Regions from separate parts of the Homo sapiens genome. Here region 2 is linked to region 1. The links are contacts of gene promoters, found by promoter capture Hi-C in human tissues and cell types (Jung and others, 2019). All regions are on one chromosome and are shown on one strand. Each heading gives the region's core, a stretch centred on a gene start or on the middle of the fragment in contact. The rest is flanking DNA. Distances are from core to core; before and after follow the strand shown. Region 1 holds the start of SNX22 (sorting nexin 22). Region 2 overlaps DAPK2 (death associated protein kinase 2).

Region 1 (2,700 bases), core at 16-2,515:
ACCTCACCATGGAGGGGACAGGACCTGGGTTTCATGGAGCTGGGACTACCTGTGTCCGTTACCTCTTTCAGTCCTTTCAACAAGCCAGAGGGGGGTGTTTGGACCTATATTAGACTCAGAAAATTGATGCTTGAGGTGGTGAATAACATCCCCAAGTTGTGGGTTCCCTCCCTGCCATGCCCCCACACCTCTCTGTCTGGGCCACACCCCTGGCACAGAAGGCCGGGGGGCAACCAACTGTGCTCTCGCATACCTGGATGTAAGCCTCCAAGCCCTGCCGGCGCTGTTCCAACCCTCTGGTCCTCCAGTTGGGCAGGCGTTTCGAGGGGAAGTCGGGCACTTTGTACAGCTTCTTGATCTACTGGAGGTTTACCGCGTGCGATCACAGCATCCCGACTGAGCCCTCAAGCCCTCTTCGCCCCAGCCAGAAGCCCTCCCGCGCCCCCGCCTTCGGGCTCTACTGGGACAGACCCTGGTGAGTGGTGGACCGGCCGAGGGCGAGGAAGGCCCCAACCCACCCACAGAGGCCCGGGGGCTGACCGGCTGCGCAGGGACTGAGGCAGTAATGGGGGTGGCGGAGGCTGGGGCTCGCCCGCCCGCCTCACAGGGCCTGGGCGGGGGCTGGACAGAGGCTGGGCCGGGGCCGGTGGGAGGTCGGCGCCGCCTCACCCGCTTGTGCAGCGCGTGGAACTCGCTGTAGCGCCTTGGCACCGTGTGTCTGCGCCCGCTGCACAGCACCTCCACTCGGAACACCTGGCGGCGCGGGCGGGCAGCGGGTCTGCGCGTGAGGCCCCGCGGGAGGACGCCGCAGCACCTGCGCCTGGCGACGTGCCCACCCTCCCGCTCTCAAAGGCACAAAGCGGCCTTGCGGCGCCGCGGCTGCCCGGGGACTCTCCGCTCCCGCACACCTGGGAGAACCGGCTGGCGGACCTGCCCCTCGGAGCCCTGGGGTCCCTCAAGAGCTCGAACCATGGTCCGCGAGGCTGGCAAATCCAAGCGGCCCCCAAACCCTCGACAAGGTTTCCCCCGACGGTCCAGCCCGCAGCGCTCGTTCACCCAGGCCCGGGCCCCGGGTCCCCACTGAGCGCAGCGCGGGGAAATCCTGCGGGTCCCGGCGCCCCTCCCCATCCAGGGGCCGCGCTCACCATGTGGCTTTTCTCCGGGCTCTGCCTGGGCCCCTCGGCCTCGGGCCCCACCGACGGGATGTGAACTTCCAGCATCCGCGCCCCGGCCCCAGCTGCTCCGCGCGCTCGGCTCGGAGCCCTAACTCTCCCGGAGCGGACTGAGGACCCCGGGGCGGCCGGCTCCGCCCCCTCGGTCCGCAGGCCCCACCCCAGGCCCCGCCCCCAGGCGACCCCGCCCCGGGCGTTCCCTTGCGCCGCGGGTCCTGAGCCTAGAAGATTAGGCGGGACCTGGACGCCGCCCCCGAAGTCTAGTGCGCCCACAGCGCGGGGCAGTGGAGTCAACCGTTTGTCAAACATTGACGGAGCACTCACTGATGCCAGGAACTGGCGAGCGAAAATGTCACCCAACCTGAGTTAAGCGCCTACCAAGGACGGCCTGTGGCTCCAGGCGCGGACGGAGGCGGGGCCCGGGCCTCAGCGCCGGTCCTGGGGCCAACCAGGGACCTGTCTTGGGTTCCTCAGTCCCTTCCCGAGCCTTTCCCTCCTTTCAGCCTGGTCCCTGAAATTGTGATCTGGATTCCCCGGCTGAGGCCACACCTGAGCAAGGCTTGGACCCAGTCCAGCTTTGATGCCCCTTTCCCCAGCATCCACAGGCCCCCCCATTCATTCATTGTTTTCATCCATCCATTCACTCATATCTTCCAACCCTAAGGGGCTCCAGGCTGTTTGTGGGGAAGAGGCAGTTTAGGGACCTAGACTCCGATTTGGACGTCAGACTGCCTGGATTTCAGGAGCTCCGTAGACCTTTGCTCATCTGCAAAATAGGGATAACGTGGCTCCTTCAGGCAAGTGTATAAAGTGAGATGATTTGGCCGGGCGCGGTGGCTCACGCCTGTAATCCCAGCACTTTGGGAGGCCGAGGTAGGCGGATCACCTGAGGTCAGGAGTTCGAGACCAGCCTGACCAACATGGTGAAACCCCGTACCTACTAAAAATACAAAAATCAACCAGGTGTGGTGGCACATGCCTGTAATCCCAGCTACTCAGGAGGCTGAGGCGGGAGAATCACTTGAACCTGAGAGGCGGAGGTTGCAGTGAGCCGAGATCAAACCATTGCACTCCAGACTGGGCAACAGCAAGACTCTGTCTTAAAAAAAAAAAAAAGTGAGATGATTCATGTTAGGCCCTTAACAGAAGCATTGAGCAGCAGCTTGACTGTGGGCTTCTCCTGGATGACTAGGATAAGTGGGCACAGGGCAGTGGATGGGAAGAGAGACTTTGGGGGGTGGCACCGGGTTGCTCTTGTCCACCCCTCCGGGCAGGTTCTTCCTGGATATGTGGCAGGATTTTGATCCAGAACTCTCTCAGGCCATGTGCTGGAAAGGACCTCTGCTCCCACCTCTCAGCCCTGCACCCTTCAGCTGTCGGAGAGCTGCTATCAGCAGCACCATGGCAGGTCCTCTACTCCACTGACTTCCCCCACAAAGGCCCCGTGACATGCAGAGAGGCGAGGCCCTGCCTTCCAAAGCTCATACGTAGTGGGAGGTCTTGGGGTGGGCAGGAGGAAGCAGAGTGC
Region 2 (2,852 bases), core at 181-2,680, 160 kb after region 1:
AGAGACAGGGTTTCACCATATTGGCTAGGCTGGTCTCATACTCCAGGCCTCAAGTGATCCCCCTGCCTCAGCCTCCCAAAGCACTGGGATGACAGGTGTGAGCCACCATACCTCTCCAGTTTTCTTATCTGTGAAATGGAACTAAAAATGATACTTGCAAATATTGAAAAAGAGAATGAATATGAAGTTAGCTCATTAAGAAAAAAGCTGGCCGGGCGCGGTGGCTCATGCCTGTAATCCCAGCACTTTGGGAGGCTGAGGCAGGCAGATCACTTGAGGTCAGGAGTTCAAGACCAGCCTGGCCAACATGGTGAAATCCCGTCTCTACTAAAAATAGAAAAAAATTAGCCATCCATGGTCGCGGTGCCTGTAATCCAAGCTACTCAGGAGGCTGAGGCAGGAGAATCACTTAAACCCAGGAGGTGGAGCTTGCAGTGAGCCGAGATTGCGCCACCGTACTCCATCCTGGGCAACAGAGCGAGACTCCAGCTCAAAAAAAAAAAAAAAGGAAAAGCTGGATGTAAATGTTGTAATGTTCACATTGCTATACAAAATTGATCCCGTGGTGTGACATTTGGTTCATGCCCTGTTTATTTACCCTTGACAGTGAAGACTTTGGGGGGTGGGGATTAAGCCAGGCTCCTCCATGAACCTTAAGAGCTGAGGTTGGGGACATTTCTGAGCACTGAGAAGCTGTTCTAGGTATACCCCTTTTAATGTGAGTCCTGGGCAGACAACTAGAGAGCCCTTATGAGGTGGCACCTGGGGGCCTGACAAGTTTGGAAATGAGGCCCATCTGCCAGTGACACTGATCTTGACACAGCCCACTTGTCCTCCCAGGTGCTGAGTGAGTGAGGAGCTGAGTCCTCTGCCTGGGAAGAGGGGTGTGTTCCTGACAGAATTGCAGGAGAGTGTGCTGGCAGAAGCGGGGTGTTTTCTGTATCTTGAGGATTTACTGTCCCTCACGAAACCATCCTACGTGACTTTTGCAAGCCAGTCTCAGGCACAGAGTTCCCACCCACCCACACCTCATGCTCTTCTGCAAGGCTGGATGGTAAAGTCCTATCTCAGACATTACCTCATGATTTCCCAAACAACCCTGGGAAGTGGGCAGGGCAGGTATTATCATCCCCATGTGACAAAGAAGGAAACTGAGGCCTGGGGAGTTGAACAGGCTGCCCAGGGTCCTGGCTCGTTAGTGGTAGGGCTCTGACTAGACTCCCAGTCTCCTGACACCAGCCCAGAGTTAGGAATTTGGAGAGTGAAGAGAAAGGGCTTCATTCCTGTTTAGAGTTGTCCCAGGCTCTTTGGAGCTGTCTGACAGGAAGCTTTCTAAGATGAGACCTGGGATGGCAGATGGAGAAACATGAACTGAAAAGGCAGCTCCCTGTCAAGCCCATGAAACTTTGATAGCAGATTAGGACGAGGAATCGGGCCTCCTACCAGCCCCGTGCTGCAGTAGACCATGCATAGGTATTGATTGTTGCTATGGGGGGCAGAGATACTGGAATATGTGTGCTTTGCATATGTATACCAGATTCCAGTATTCCCATCATTTTTGATTTAGTGTTAGCAATGACTTTCATTAGAGGTTGAATTGCTCCCTTCTGCTCCCTCCCTGGATGACATTCTGGGTGGCTCTGTCCTAAAGTAGACAGACCCTCGCCTCCCACCCATCATCCCTGTAGCCTAGCTGGCGACTTCTGCACTGTGGGACCTCAACTTCTGGCTGCAGAGCCTTCTGTGTGCAGAAAAAGGCCTGTTGCTGTCACCTGCCCTTGGGTTGGCTGGGCCCTCTGATGGGCATACTAGAGCCACCTCAGGTTCTGCTTTTGTGCATCTGCTGAGTACAGTGGCCAGGGAGTGCCTGACTGCAAATTTTCACTCCTGTTATCCTCCGAAAGCTAGAGTAATCTTCTGCCTTGATTTGCATATTCATAACACAGCAGTTAGACTGGTGAACCCCTCAAGCAAAAATCATGCTGATGGGAGAGACAACCCCTCCCCTCTGATTCCCTTTCTTTACTCCTTTCCTGAAATGATCAGATCAGAGAACTATGGGGAAGTGTAATACTGAAAATGAGGAACTAGTATGAGTAACAGTGGTATAGTTTCTTCATTTGTGAAATGGAGATAATCAGAAAGCTGTTGTAAGTCAGCCCTGGCTGCATGTCAGTTACCCAGCGGGCTTTTAAATAGCCCCATCTTCAGGCCCAGACCCAGGAGATCAGAATCTCTCAGGGTGAGACTTAAACACTAGGAGTTTTAAAATTCCCCAGGCAATATCAATGTGTGGCCTGGGTTGAGAACCACTGCTCTAGGATTTAAAGAGTTGGCTACTTGCTCGGAATAGAGCTATTTTCACATCTGGCTGTGCGTGGGAATCATTGGCGGGGTAGGGTGGTGCTTTTAAAATTAAACTGAAGCTGGGTGGTGTGGCAGGCACCTGTGGTCCCAGCTACTCGGGAGGCTGAGGTTGGGAGGATTGCTTGAGCCCAGGAGTTTGAGGCTGCAGTGAGTTATGATCACACCACTGCCCTCCAGCCGGGGCAGCAGAGCCAGACCCCATCTCTAAAAATAAATAAAATTAAACCAATTCCTTGGTTTCACATTCCAGACCATTTGAATCAGTGACTTATGTCTCTGGATGTCTCTTGCTCAGCCTTCACATGAACCACTTTTGAGTACCACGGGCCAACATTACAAATATTTCCAGTCTTCACAATTCTCTAGCAGGGAACCCTGATTCCCATTTGACAGATGAGCAAATCTATGTTCAGAGCAGGTGAAAGCATAAGTCTCTGAGGCCAGGCCTGTCTGATCTTGAAGCCTGGGGGCTGGGTCTGGTGGAG

The links. The method cuts DNA at HindIII sites, captures the fragments that hold promoters and counts their contacts. A contact is called where the count stands out against the background at its distance.
Region 2: a contact is called between a fragment that was not itself captured here and the fragment with the promoter of SNX22 in region 1, in 1 of the 25 tissues and cell types used here (H1 embryonic stem cells).

What each region holds. Positions count from the first base shown.
Region 1 is chr15:64,150,296-64,152,995 of GRCh38, reverse strand. It overlaps SNX22 (sorting nexin 22), which reads right to left and starts at 1,265. Exons shown (of 7, transcript NM_024798.3): 1 at 1,146-1,265; 2 at 670-753; 3 at 254-358. The coding sequence starts at 1,220. RefSeq lists silencers at 560-939, 1,140-1,579 and an enhancer at 2,497-2,606. The HindIII fragment of the contact is 9,247 bases long and covers 1-2,700 here.
Region 2 is chr15:63,986,163-63,989,014 of GRCh38, reverse strand. The region is part of intron 2 of DAPK2 (death associated protein kinase 2); the gene reads left to right. Among named protein-coding and RNA genes, the nearest start is that of DAPK2, 59 kb to the left of the region's middle. The HindIII fragment of the contact is 6,246 bases long and covers 1-2,852 here.